2 separate regions of the Homo sapiens genome follow, and region 1 is linked to region 2. Evidence: promoter capture Hi-C in human tissues and cell types (Jung and others, 2019). All regions are on one chromosome and are shown on one strand. Each heading gives the region's core, a stretch centred on a gene start or on the middle of the fragment in contact. The rest is flanking DNA. Distances are from core to core; before and after follow the strand shown.

The links. Contacts are between HindIII fragments. The study calls those that stand out against the background at their distance.
Region 1: a fragment that was not itself captured here is called in contact with the fragment with the promoter of IFNGR2 in region 2 in 1 of the 25 tissues and cell types used here (spleen).

Annotation. Positions count from the first base shown.
Region 1 is chr21:33,257,372-33,264,020 of GRCh38, forward strand. The region is part of intron 7 of IFNAR2-IL10RB (IFNAR2-IL10RB readthrough); the gene reads left to right. It overlaps IFNAR2 (interferon alpha and beta receptor subunit 2), which reads left to right. Exons shown (of 9, transcript NM_001289125.3): 8 at 3,226-3,356; 9 at 5,422-6,649. The coding sequence ends at 6,129. Among named protein-coding and RNA genes, the nearest start is that of IL10RB-DT, 5.6 kb to the right of the region's middle. The HindIII fragment of the contact is 4,422 bases long and covers 2,652-6,649 here.
Region 2 is chr21:33,397,549-33,404,662 of GRCh38, forward strand. IFNGR2 (interferon gamma receptor 2) reads left to right here and starts at 5,865. Exons shown (of 7, transcript NM_005534.4): 1 at 5,865-6,068. The coding sequence starts at 5,996. RefSeq lists cis regulatory regions at 4,410-5,597, 4,982-5,597, 5,580, 5,590, 5,867 and 2 more, promoters at 4,813-5,969, 4,813-5,451, 4,823-5,990, 5,585-5,989 and silencers at 5,544-6,083, 6,094-6,173, 6,194-6,243, 6,384-6,433. The HindIII fragment of the contact is 6,342 bases long and covers 2,605-7,114 here.

The sequences.
Region 1 (6,649 bases), core at 3,613-6,112, 140 kb before region 2:
AGGACAAAGCTTTCACACCCTGGAAGGGGACCTGAGCGGGTTGCCACTGCTGGCTGGAGGTGGCCAGCTTTTATTCCCTTATTGTCCCTTCCCGTGTTCGTTTCTGTCCTATCAGAGTGCCCTTTTTTCAGTCCTCCTCGTGATTGGCTACTTTTAGGATCCTGCTGATTGGTGCATTTTACAGAGCGCTGATTGGTGCGTTTTAGAGTGCTGATTGGTGCGTTTTACAGAATGCTGACTTGTGCATTTTACAATCCTCTTGTGAGACAGGAAAGTCCCTGATTGGTGCGTTTTACAATCCTCTTGTAAGACAAGAAAGTTCCCTAAGTCCTCACTCCACCCAGGAAGTCCAGCTGGCCTCACCTTTCACTTAGAGAAGGATCAGCTCTGAGAGATATCAGCAGACACGTGCGGCAGCAGTAGTGGGTGTGCACTGACTGGAAAAGGGGACATGGGCAGGCCACCCACAGCATCCACCACAGATGGCCACAGATGGCCTTCCTGAGAAGGTAGCATTTGAATAAAGACCCAAGGGAGATGTGGTAAGCAGAATAATGGCCCCCAAAGATGTCTACATCCTAATCCCAGATATGTGAACAGGCTAACCTCTATGCCAAAGGGGCTTGTGGGTGTGATGAAATTGAAGATCTTGGCCAGGCGCAGTGGCTCATGCCTGTAATTCCAGCACTTTGGGGGGCCGAGCCAGGTGAATCACCTGAGGTCAGGAGTTCGAGTTCAGCCTAGCCAACGTGGTAAAACCCCATCTCTACTAAAAATACAAAAATTAGCCAGGCGTGGTGGCATGCGTCTGGAGTCCCAGCTACTTGGGAGGCTGAGGCAGGAGAATCTCTTGAACCCGGGAGGTGGGGGTTGCAGTGAGCCAAGATGGTACCACTGTACTCCAGCCTGAGCTACAGAGCAAGACTGTGTCTCAACAAAAAGAGAAGCAGGAGACTCAGAGGCAGAGAAGGAGCTCTCACAGCAGCAGCAGAGGTCGCAGAGTGAGGATGAAGGAGGGGGCCATGAGCAAAGGAATGCAAGTGGCCTCTAGAAGCTGGGAAAGGCAAAGAAATGGGTTTTCCCCTAGAGCCTCCATAAGGAGTTCAGTCCTGCCAACATCTTGATATTTTTTATCCCAGTGAAACCCATTTTGGATTTCTGATCTCCAGAACTATTAATATAATATATTTATATTGTTTTATGACACTAACTTTGCATCATTTGTTACGGTGGCAATGGGAAACAAACACAAGGTGAGGGAGTGAGTCACGCAAACCTATCAGGGGAAGGAGTTCCATATGCGGGGTTCAGCAAGTGCCAAGTGCCCGAGGCAGGATATGCCTGGCACGGCACGGCAGGAGTGAACTGAACAAGGGAAGAATAGTAACAGTTCTGGTCAGAAAAGATGGAGGAGCCTGAATGACATAGAACTTAGAAGCCGTTGCAAGAGATGGGGACCCTCAGAGGGTTGTGAGCAGGTTGCTCTCCGTGATCTGACGTGGGATGTAAAGGGAACATCCATCCACATGCCTTGAAGTGGGAGCCAGGTGACCCCTGGGCTGATTACTGCAGTCACCCAGGGGAGAGGCGGTCTTACTTGTTCCAGAGAGGTAAGTACGGGAGGAACTATAAGAGACTGATGTTAGTCATCGCCAGTCTTTTCATAAAGTTCTTTATCTTTTCCATTAAAGATCATTGTGATCAGATATTACCAACCCCGTTGCTCAGTTCAGCCCTCTGCTTGTGAGGTTTCTTATTTTTTGCTTAAAATATCTCCACAGTGAATCCAGAGACAGACAGGTTTGTCCAAGGCCAAATTTTTAAGACACGACCTGGTCTCTCCTTCCCAAGATGGGTTGATCTGGTCCATCTTTCATGAAGAAGATAGTTAACAGCAGTAACATTCAATCACAGCTTCTCCTTTCTGAGTCAGAACATTGATGGGATTCATCTCTTTTCAAATATGAATATTTAAAAATAGCATGCATGTATAATTGTCATGACCCCAAGTGAGATTTCTATTTTTTAGATTATCATCAAGCTGAAAACAAACAAAAATTCTAAGTTCTCCTAAAGAATTCTCAGACTCATGAGAATACCCCAAATTGAGGAATATTATCCTAGCATATTAACTACAATTTACACAATTTGGTTTGGACATAGAGTGCATTGTAGCTGTTATATGCAAGTTGGATGGGTACATGAGTCACAATCTCTGTATTATGCCATTCCTTCACCAGTGAAATCACTTTGGTTTACAGTACCCCTTTCAAGAATGTAAACGCTATACATGTCAGAATTTTGTATCCTAAAGGCGTGCCTCTGTGGCTAGATCTGATTCTGGAACTGTCATTGATATGACAATCCAATCCTTCACACTCTTGATGGAGGTGAGAGTGGATTCTTGAACCCTGTGCTATCTAACAGTGTTTTTACTGAACTATCAAGGGTTTTTACTGAACTTCTTTCTATTCATTCCTTAACCTTCTGGAAGACTTAGAGTACATAATCCATTTGATTTCCTTTTTTCTCCCCTCTATCTATTTTTGCCTGAGGCTATAGTTCGAGGATTAATACTAATGAAGACCTTTCTGGAAGTGCAAGAGAGCCTTAGTGATATAACTACTGATTTTTCAGTCTGGTCGCACTTCAGGAAAATAACTATGGTCAGTCAAAAAGCTGAAATTTTCCAAAAGGAATTTTGATGAGAAACTAAGGGGAACTGTTAATAGAGCAAGGCAGGTTCTGCAGAGCCCTGACTTGTGGCCCCAGCGTGGCTAAAGTCCAGCCTCAGAATGACCCAGTTGGTTGTTTTCAAGCAAACTTTCCTTCCCCACTTCTTCCTGCCCGCAGCGCATGCTAACCAGTGTGGCTACCGAACGTTTGAGATGTGTTTCATGTGACTGAGAGACCGAGCTCTTAATTCTGTTTAATTTTAATCATTTAAATTCAGCCAGCTGCAGCCAGTGGCTACTCCACTGTACAGTGCAGTTATAGAACATAAACTGAAGGAAATTTTACTTTTAAAAGCTAAGTCTATTTTATTGTTTAAAAAATGCACACTTAGATAATTCTCCAGTCTCTGGTATTTCTCAATATAAAACTGTTTTTTCAAACCTTTGGTTTCTTGATCATCTTGTAACACCAGGCCAATGTACATTTATTTCCATCTGCAATTGTTTATTGCATTTTTTGAAATAAAGTCATTTAATTTTTCATCAACAGAATCAGCAGAATCTGCCAAAATAGGAGGAATAATTACTGTGTTTTTGATAGCATTGGTCTTGACAAGCACCATAGTGACACTGAAATGGATTGGTTATATATGCTTAAGAAATAGCCTCCCCAAAGTCTTGGTAGGTAGTTTTTTTGTTTTGTTTTGTTTTTTCTATCTTTGTTTTTTATTTTAACTTAAGAATTTGTATTTATATAAATATTTTCACAGAAGAAAATCTCATTTTCTATAAACACCAAAATGCTTTCTCACTCTGAGTTCTTTTCCATATCTATAAATGTATATTTTGCAGGGTTTTTGTTTTGTTTTTGTTTTTATTATACTTTTAAGTTTTAGGGTACATGTGCACAGTGTGCAGGTTAGTTACATATATATACATGTGCAGTTGTAAGTGTATCTGTGCATCTGTGCATTTTATGTTTTCTTTCCTTTTTTTTTTTTTTTTTTTTTGAGACAGTCTCACTCTGTCACCCAGGCTGGAGTACAGTGGCGTGATCTCAGCTGACTGTAACCTCTGCCTCCTAGGCTCAAGCAATTCTCGTGCCTCAGCCTCTCAAGTAGCTGGGACTACAGGCGTGTGCTACCACACCTGGCTAATTTTTGCATTTTTAGTAGAGATGGGGTTTTGCTATGTTGGCCAGGCTGGTCTTGAACTCCTGACTTCAAGTGATCCACCTGCCTTGGCCTCCCAAAGTTCTGGGATTACAGGTGTGAGCCACTGCACTCAGCAATGTTTTGTTTTGTTTTGTTTTTATACTTCATCACATAATTTATAATGATCAGGTAGAATTTCATTATTATTAACATACCATTTTTCATTTAACCATTTCTCAGCTAAAGGGCATTTGGATTTCTTTTCCTTTTCTTTTCTTTGGTGATGATGAATAGTACAATAAACATTTTTATATGGATCGTCTTTTTGTTTTGGATTATGTCAGTGGAACATATACACAAAGTGGATTTATCCTATAAAAAGATTTAAAAAGGACTAGGCACAGTGGCTCACGCCTGTAATCTCAGCACTTTGGGAGGCTGAGGCGGGTGGATCATTTGAGCCCAGGAGTTTGAGACCAGCCTGGGCAATATAAGGAAACCTTGTCTTAGAGAAAATAAAAATAAATTAGCCAGGCATGCTGGCACATGCCTGTGGTCTCAGCTACTCAGGAGGATGTGGTGAGAGGATTGCTTGAGCCCAGGAGGTGGAGGCTGCAGTGAGCTGTGATTGCGCCACTGCACTCCAGCCTCGGTTACAGAGTGAGACCCTAGCTCTAAAAATATATAAATATCTTAAAAATATAAAGAAGCAGCCAAAGGAGAGGAAGTTAAGAGGAGTAAGTCAGAACATAGTCTATGTGGCCAGCAGCCTGCCTGGTTTGAAAGGCAGCTGCTCCCACTCACTAGTCACAAACCTTGAGCAAGTTTCTTAACTTCTGCACCTCATTTTCTCATCTGTAAAGTGGGCATAAGAATAGTAAGCCTGGCCAGGCGCGGTGGCCACGCCTATAAACCCAGCACTTCGGGAGGCCAAGGCAGGTAGATCACGAGGTCGGGAGTTCAAGACCAGCCTGGCCAACATGGTGAAACCCCTTCTCTACTAAAAATACAAAAATTTGCCGGGCATAGTGGCGGGCGCCTGTAATCCCAGCTACTCAGGAGGCTGAGGCAGAGAATTGCTTGAACCTGGGAGGTGGAGGTTGCAGTGAGCCAAGACCGCACTACTGCACTCCAGCCTGGGCAACAGAGCGAGACTCCCGTCTCAAAAAAAAAAAAAAAAAAAAATAGTAAGCATACCTCATAGAGCAGTTGCAAGGGAAAGGTAAATTATATATAAAGCACCAAGAGTCATGCCCAGCATATAGTAAGCATGGTGTAACTGTTAGCTGTTATTATTGCTGTCATCATCATCAACTGCATCATCATTCAATCTCATTAAGTTTATTTTTTATTTTTTTAGAGGCAAGGTCTCGCTAAGGGCTGGAATGCAGTGGCTATTCACAGGTGCAGTCATAATGCACTACAGTCTGAAACTCCTGAGCTCAAACAGTCGTCCTGCCTAAGCTTCCCCAGTAGCTGGGATTACAAGCGTGCATCCCTGTGCCCCAGTGATTAAGTTTTATTATGTAGAAAATAAAGAGCAAACAGTACAGCTGATACGGACTCTCTCTCTCTTTTTTTTTTTTTTTAAGAATTTTCATAACTTTTTAGCCTGGCCATTTCCTAACCTGCCACCGTTGGAAGCCATGGATATGGTGGAGGTCATTTACATCAACAGAAAGAAGAAAGTGTGGGATTATAATTATGATGATGAAAGTGATAGCGATACTGAGGCAGCGCCCAGGACAAGTGGCGGTGGCTATACCATGCATGGACTGACTGTCAGGCCTCTGGGTCAGGCCTCTGCCACCTCTACAGAATCCCAGTTGATAGACCCGGAGTCCGAGGAGGAGCCTGACCTGCCTGAGGTTGATGTGGAGCTCCCCACGATGCCAAAGGACAGCCCTCAGCAGTTGGAACTCTTGAGTGGGCCCTGTGAGAGGAGAAAGAGTCCACTCCAGGACCCTTTTCCCGAAGAGGACTACAGCTCCACGGAGGGGTCTGGGGGCAGAATTACCTTCAATGTGGACTTAAACTCTGTGTTTTTGAGAGTTCTTGATGACGAGGACAGTGACGACTTAGAAGCCCCTCTGATGCTATCGTCTCATCTGGAAGAGATGGTTGACCCAGAGGATCCTGATAATGTGCAATCAAACCATTTGCTGGCCAGCGGGGAAGGGACACAGCCAACCTTTCCCAGCCCCTCTTCAGAGGGCCTGTGGTCCGAAGATGCTCCATCTGATCAAAGTGACACTTCTGAGTCAGATGTTGACCTTGGGGATGGTTATATAATGAGATGACTCCAAAACTATTGAATGAACTTGGACAGACAAGCACCTACAGGGTTCTTTGTCTCTGCATCCTAACTTGCTGCCTTATCGTCTGCAAGTGTTCTCCAAGGGAAGGAGGAGGAAACTGTGGTGTTCCTTTCTTCCAGGTGACATCACCTATGCACATTCCCAGTATGGGGACCATAGTATCATTCAGTGCATTGTTTACATATTCAAAGTGGTGCACTTTGAAGGAAGCACATGTGCACCTTTCCTTTACACTAATGCACTTAGGATGTTTCTGCATCATGTCTACCAGGGAGCAGGGTTCCCCACAGTTTCAGAGGTGGTCCAGGACCCTATGATATTTCTCTTCTTTCGTTCTTTTTTTTTTTTTTTTTTGAGACAGAGTCTCGTTCTGTCGCCCAAGCTGGAGCGCAATGGTGTGATCTTGGCTCACTGCAACATCCGCCTCCCAGGTTCAAGTGATTCTCCTGCCTCAGCCTCCCTCGCAAGTAGCTGGGATTACAGGCGCCTGCCACCATGCCTA
Region 2 (7,114 bases), core at 4,615-7,114:
AAATTAGCCAGGCATGGTGGTGGGCGCCTGTAATCCCAGCTACTCGGGAAGCTGAGACACGAGAATCACTTGAATCTAGGAGGCGGAGGTTGTAATGAGCCGAGATTGTGCCACTGCACTCCAGCCTGGGTGACAGAGCAAGACTCTGTCTCAAAAAAAAAAAAAAAAATCAGGATATCATTCATTCCCTGTTTTCAGGAGGAATTAAATATAGAATGCTGTATGTGTAATAGTTACTCTTGTGAGGGTCCCAGACAGGAGGCAAAAGACTAGAGAAGACTTGGCATTACTGGAATGATGTTTTATGATGGCCCCACTGGGGAAGTAGAAATGCAACAAGTGTAGGCTGGTGAAAGGAGGGGGCTGTGGCCCATGACAAACAGCAAGAAAAACCCAGCCCATCACCGGAGACCTAAGGGAATTCATCCTTTCGCTAACATGCCAATTCCTCTGACCTTGATCCTGGAATTTCTTGAAACAAGGGGGCACCAAGTCACATATCAGGGCCCCACTTGGTAATGATCAAGGCCTACTTTGAGCTCGGACCTCTTACAGCTCTGTTGAATCCAGGGAAGACACTCACCTACCCACTCACAGGTGTCAGCGGCCCTGCCTTTGGCTATGTCAATCCCCACGGACACCAACGATGACACAAAATGGCAGCAAACAGTGGAAGATGGTAGTCAGAGAAGGCAACAGAGTTCTCAGGAAATGGAGTCCAGAAGTTGTAGAATTTGGACTGTGGGTATGGCAGGAGTGGGGGTTGGGGGAGGCGTTGTAGATGAAGGCAGGGAGAGGCGCAAACAGGTGGGGTGAACAGCAGAGGAAGAGGCAGACAAGTAGGGCACATGTGACCTTCACGAAGTACAATTTCAAAGACTCACTGATGGAATAGCCGGGTCATGGGGAGCTGTGGAGCGCTTGACTGGGCACAGAGCTGGGTCTCATTACGAGAAAACTGAACAGCATGATGAGAAGTTTGCTGTGAAATGCAGGGGGCTTTGGCACTAGACAGGCCTGGCTAGGAGCCCACACTGCCACTCATTGGCTGTGTGATTTGGGGCATGCTCAGCCAGATTTTGATCCAACAAGCAAAACCATCATGTGATGTGATGTGTGTGTGTGTGTGTGTGCGTGTGTGTGTGTGTGTGTGTGTGTGTGTGTTGTTATATTACAGAGATTTGACCTCACATAAACATGAGAGATGTGTGCACAGTCCAGGAGAGACAATTTTCCCCTGTCCGGTGCTGGAGCCTGAAGTCCTCAGGGCAGGAGGCCGGGAAGAGAAGGTGGACAAGAGATGGAGGAAGCAGGGACAAGCTGAAATCTAAGGCTCAGCTGCCACCCTCCTCACCCTGCTCTCCATCTCCACACCTCCAGCTTACACGACCACATGAGATCCACGGGGAGCTGGAGGAGCCTGGAGCCTGTCTGCATCCCTGCCATCTAGGACATCAGCAGAGAAGCCACAGGTCGGGAGCTGCAAAGATGGATGCCTTGTGCCCTGCCCCAGCCTCCCAAGGGTAAAGGAATATGGCTGCACCTTTCCTTCCATCTTCCAAGTCTCGCACATTGCTAGGGTTTGAATGTGTCCCCAAATTTCACGTGCTGGAAATTTGATTCCCAATATGGCAGTATGGAGGAATGAGGCCTTTCAGAGGTGATTGGTTATGGTGATCCTGCCCTCATGGATGGGTGGATTCATTCATGGACTAATGGGTTCATGGACCAATGGTTATCATGGGAGTGGGGCTGGTGGCTTTATAAAAGAGGGGATGGGCATGGTGGCTCACTCCTGTAATCCCAACACTTTGGGAGGCCGAGGCAGGTGGATCACTTGAGGTCAGTAGTTCAAGACCAGGGCAACAGGTGAAACACCAACTCTACTAAAAATACAAAAATTAGCCGGGTGTGGTGGCAGGTGCCTGTAATCCCAGCTACTTGGGAGGCTGAGGCAGGAAAATTGCTTGAACCCAGGAGGCAGAGGTTGCAGTGAGCCAAGATTGCACCATTGCACTCCAGCCTAGGCAACAGAGTGATACTCCATCTCAAAAGAAAAAAAAAAAAAAGAGGAAGATAAATCCGAGCACCTTAGCACCCTCAGCCCCCCTTGCCATGTGATGCCCTGACCACCTCATGACTCTGCAGAGAATCTCCACCAGCAAGAAGGCCCTCACCAGATTTAGTCCCTAGACCTTGGACTTCTCAGCCTCCCAAAATGTAAGAAATAAATGCCTTTTCTTTATCAATTACCCAGCTTCAGATATTCTGTTATAAGCAACAGAAAATGGACCAAGACACACACAAACATCCTTCCCTGCCCATGTTACCTCAGAACTTTTCAGGGAGGGGAATTCTAGGAAATGCAGTTACAGTTTAGCAGACCTACTGCAGTGCAAACCCACCACAGGCCAAGTCACTGAACTCTGCTAGTGTCCCCATGGGACAGCCATCGCCTGCCTAACTGGGAGGTCTGAGTGTTATAATACCTAGAGAAGCACCACTGGCCAGCAAAAAATGTTGGCTTCTTTCTGCCATCCCCCACCCACTCTCCTGAGGGAGGTGAGAGGAGTCCCTCTAGGCTATTAGAAATGCTTCAGGAAGATCAACTGATTACAAGGTAAGGAATTAATGGAAAGGGATGGTGCAGATTCAGGGTTTGTAGGGCTGAAGTGTATATAATAGATGGAGCCCTCTTTATAAACAAATACACAACTCACTATAAAATTAGGCACAAAAGTATTTCTTTTTCTTTTCTTTTTTTTTTTTTTTTGAGATGGAGCCTTACTCTGCACTCAGGCTGGAGTGCAGTGGTGCTGTCTCAGCTCACTGCAACCTCCATCTCCCAGGTTCAAGCAATTGTCATGCCTCAGCCTCCCAAGTAGCTGGGATTACAGGCACCTGCCACTATGCCTGGCTAATTTTTCTATTTTTAGTAGAGATGGGGTTTCACCATGTTGGCCAGGCTGGTCTTGAACTCCTGACCTCAGGTGATCCACCCACCTCGGCCTCCCAAAGTGCTGGAATTACAGGTGTGAGCCACCACATCTGGCCAAAAGTATTTCTTTAGAATGATATACAGGTTACAATTTTTTTTTTTTTTTTGAGACAGAGTCTTGCTCTGTGGCTCAGGCTAGAGTGCAGCAGCATGATCTCAGCTCACGGCAACCTCCACCTCCTGGGTTCATGTGATTCTCCTGTCTCAGCCTCCCAAGTAGCAGGGATTACAGGCACATGCCACCACGCCTGGCTAATTTTTGTATTTTTAGTAGAGACGAGTTTCACCATGTTGGCCAGGCTGGTCTTGAACTCCTGATCTCAGGTGATCCACCTGGCTCAGCCTCCCAAAGCGCTGGGATTAGAGGCGTGAGCCACCGCACCCAGCCATCAAAGATGTAACCTTGAAACAAACTGCAGAAGCCTTTTCCCTTAGCCTTAAAATGGACTCCATGTCCCTCCCTTCTTCACCGTATAAACTCCCTTCACATTTATCTAACTGTATGCCCGTGTCTAGTTACGTGCCTTCTTAGAGGTTCCAGACGCTAATCTTGAGACAGACAGACCAAGCCTGGAGATTCTTCTGCAAAATTCCACATGTGACCTCAAGGCGTCTAATTAAGAATCCAGCCATTGTTGAGATGATGCCAGACCACAGGCTTCCTGTGGACTAGGACCCAAGACAGCCACCGGAACAAGACAAACAGACAGTGTACTTAGCATAATCCTTGCCTGACTTCCACATCGTTTTCCCGTTTTAAACCCTTGCCTTGGCCGGGCGCGGTGGCTCACGCCTGTAATCCCAGCACTTTGGGAGGCCGAGGCAGGCAGATCACGAGGTCAGGAGATCGAGACCAACCTGGCTAACACGGTGAAAACCCATCTCTACAAAAAACACAAAAAATTAGCCGGGTGTGGTGGCGTGCGCCTGCAGTCCCAGCTACTCGGGAGGCTGAGGCAGGAGAATGGTGTGAACCCAGAAGGCGGAGCTTGCAGTGAGCGGAGATCACACCACTGCACTCCAGCCTGGGTGACGGAGACTCTGTCTCAAATAAATAAATAAATAAATAAATAAATAAATAAATAAATAAATAAAATAAATAACCCTTGCCTTTCCCACTCCCCATACCCCACAATTCAACGTGATTGCTTTGGGGATAGGAATCCAACCACTTCCCCTTGCTAGCTTTGGAAATAAAGTCACTTTCTTTCCACCACATCTTGCTCTTGTTAGACTCTGCAAGCAGCCAGCGACTGAACCAGCATTCGGTTACATCCCCTGAGGCGGATGACACTTGTGTGATCCTGTAACCGATTTCTTGTTAGAATGTTGGCATCTTTCACCCAGTCGTTTTCTTGTAATTTTATTTATTTGTTTGAAAACAGAATCCTTCTTGCAATCCTGTCATTTTCAGTGCCTTTTTTTTTTTTTTTTTTTTTTTTTTTTTTTTTTTTTTTTGAGACGGAGTCTCGGTCTGTCACCCAGGCCGGGGTGCAGTGGCGCAATCTCCGCTCACTACAACCTCCGCCTCCCGGGTTCAAGTGATTCTCCTGTCTTAGCCCTCCAAGTAGCTGGGATTACAGGCGCCGGCCACCACGCCTGACTAATTTTTGTATTTTTAGTAGAGACGGGTTTCAGCCATATTGGCCAGGCTGGTCTCCAACTCCTGGCCTCATGTGATCCGCCCACCTCGGCCTCCTAAAGTGCTGAGATTACAGGCGTGAGCCACCGCGCCTGGCATCAGTGCATACTTTTTGAAGTGATTCCAAGTTATCGCCCGCTTTTTTCGTGTAACATATAAATACATCTCTGTATCTAGAAATATCCAATGCATAATTCAATTGTCTGCGAGGTATTTCATCACGTATTTTCACGAGCGTGGCCAATTTCAAAATAGTTCTACAAAGAGGAAATGCAAGAATGTGGGAAGAGCAAAAGAAAAGCTCTATGTTGCAAAACCCATTTTTGCTAACGTGTCCAGTGGGCTCCCGGGACGACCTGTTTTTAAATTCTTGGTCTCCCTGCACCGCGTCCCTCCTTTGCTGCGCTAGCTTTATGACGCATCTTGGAAGAACAGGGCAGATTTAAAACCCTCTCCCAACAGGCGTCAAACGACATGGTGCAGGCTCGGGCTGGGGAGCGGGCCTGCGGCTGCCCAGCTGCTAAAGGACTTCCTACTCGTGCACCGCCGCCGGCTCCAGGGCAAACCCCACGCCATTTAGAAATGCTGGAAGTTTCTGTCTCTCCCTCCCCCTGCTCGGAGGCCATTCCCCCCACCCCCAGAGCCCCACCTCCTCCTTCACTGGGCCCTTTCTAACTCCTTCCCCTTAAAACCCTTTTCAAAATGGGGTTGACTGGAGGCGGAGGTTGCAGTGAGCCGAGATCGCCCCACTGCACTCCAGCCTGGTGACTCCGTCTCAAAAAAAAGGGGAGGGGGGCGGGGGAGAGTTGAAAGCTTAATATGTACTTTGGGGGCTATTAAAGCAAACATTTCGACTAAAGGGGCGAATCCTCGAATTGTGCGATCAAGCACCCGAGAGGAGAGTTGGGGGGGGTCAGGAGGGGTGGGGGCTCCAGGGAAAGCCCGGGGGTCTGGGCCGGGGTCTCGCGGGGCCCTTCCGGAAGGATCGCGGCCCCCGAAGGTGGGCGTCCCGCGGGGCTCCAGTCTCCAGGACGTTCCGGGAGGCTCCGCGCTCTGGGAGGCCGGCTGCGTGGGGTCCCCGCGCTGCAGCCGCAGAGGCCCCCCAGGGCCGCGGTTCCCGGAGCGGGAAAGTCCCGCGCGGGGGCGGTGGCCTCGGGGGCGGGACGGGGCGGGGGCGGGGGCGCGGGCGGCCGAGCCGAATCCCCTCCACCGGGACGCCCCGCTGCTGCTCGGGAAGAGGCGGGCCCTGCGCGCCCTGCGCTCGCCATGGCGGTTTGGGCGGCGACGTGAGCGGCTCCGCGGACCCCGAGCGGGGCCCCGGCCGCGACCTGAGCCGCCGCCGAGCGCCCGGGGCCATGCGACCGACGCTGCTGTGGTCGCTGCTGCTGCTGCTCGGAGTCTTCGCCGCCGCCGCCGCGGCCCCGCCAGGTGAGCCGGGCCTGGGCCTCCGCGGCGGGACGCGGGCGCAGCCGCAGCATGTGGGGGCTGGGGGACTCCCGGATCGTGGGGTGGGGGGAATCTGCCGGGTGCTCAGAGTGGGTGGGAATCTGCGGGGTGCTCCTGGTGGGTGGGATATGCGGAGTGCTCAGATCAGGTGGGAACCTGCGGGTGCCCCAGGTGGGGGTCTTGCGGGGTGCCCAGGGCTAGAGGGGCCCGCTGGGAGCCCGCAGCGGGGCTGGGATGGGCGGCCAGGAGTTCCAGACAGGAGCTGGGCAGCAGCAGGAAGACGGGGGGCACCCCTCCTGGCGTCCTGGCCGCCGGGACACCCCTCTCCGGGAGAGGACACTCGGTGCCCCTCCGTGAAGCCGGTAACCTCGGCTGCGCCACCTCCCCCACCCGCGCGCCCGCGCCGGGAAAGCCAGCGTGGCCCCAGTCTCCGAATTTCTCGGAATGAACAACAGCAAATTGAATCCAGGGCTCCGGCGGGGGCCGCCTTTGCTGGCCACTGGTTCTGCAGCCTGGCGAGACTGCGCTTAGTCCCCGCCTGGAGTGCCTCCCGAAGGCCTGGCTGGAAGCTAGACTCAGTCCCTTTGTAGTAGCAGCGGTGGAGCAGGGACCAGCGTCTTGGACGGGTGACCCAGACTCAATTCCGACTTTGGCCGAGGGCATGTTTGACACTGGGTGTGAAATCTAGACAGTTCCCGCGGTCATAGAGATGGGGCAGCAGCATTCAGGCAGGGCTCAGAACTGTCCGGGTCCCATCAGTGTTGGGGCGGAAGAGGAAGAGTGTCAACTGAGCCAGGCATTTATTTATTTTATTGTTGTTTGAGACAGGGTGTCGCTCTGTCGCCCAGGCTGGAGTGCAGTGGGCAGCATCTCAGCTACTGCAGCCTCCGCCTCCCGTGCTCAAGCGATCCTCCCACGTCAGCCTCCCAAGAAGGTGGTATTATTGGCCACGCCTGGCCAATTTTTGTATTTTTTGTAGAGAGGAGGTCTCACTGTGTTGCCCAGGCTGTTCTTGTACTCCTGAGCTC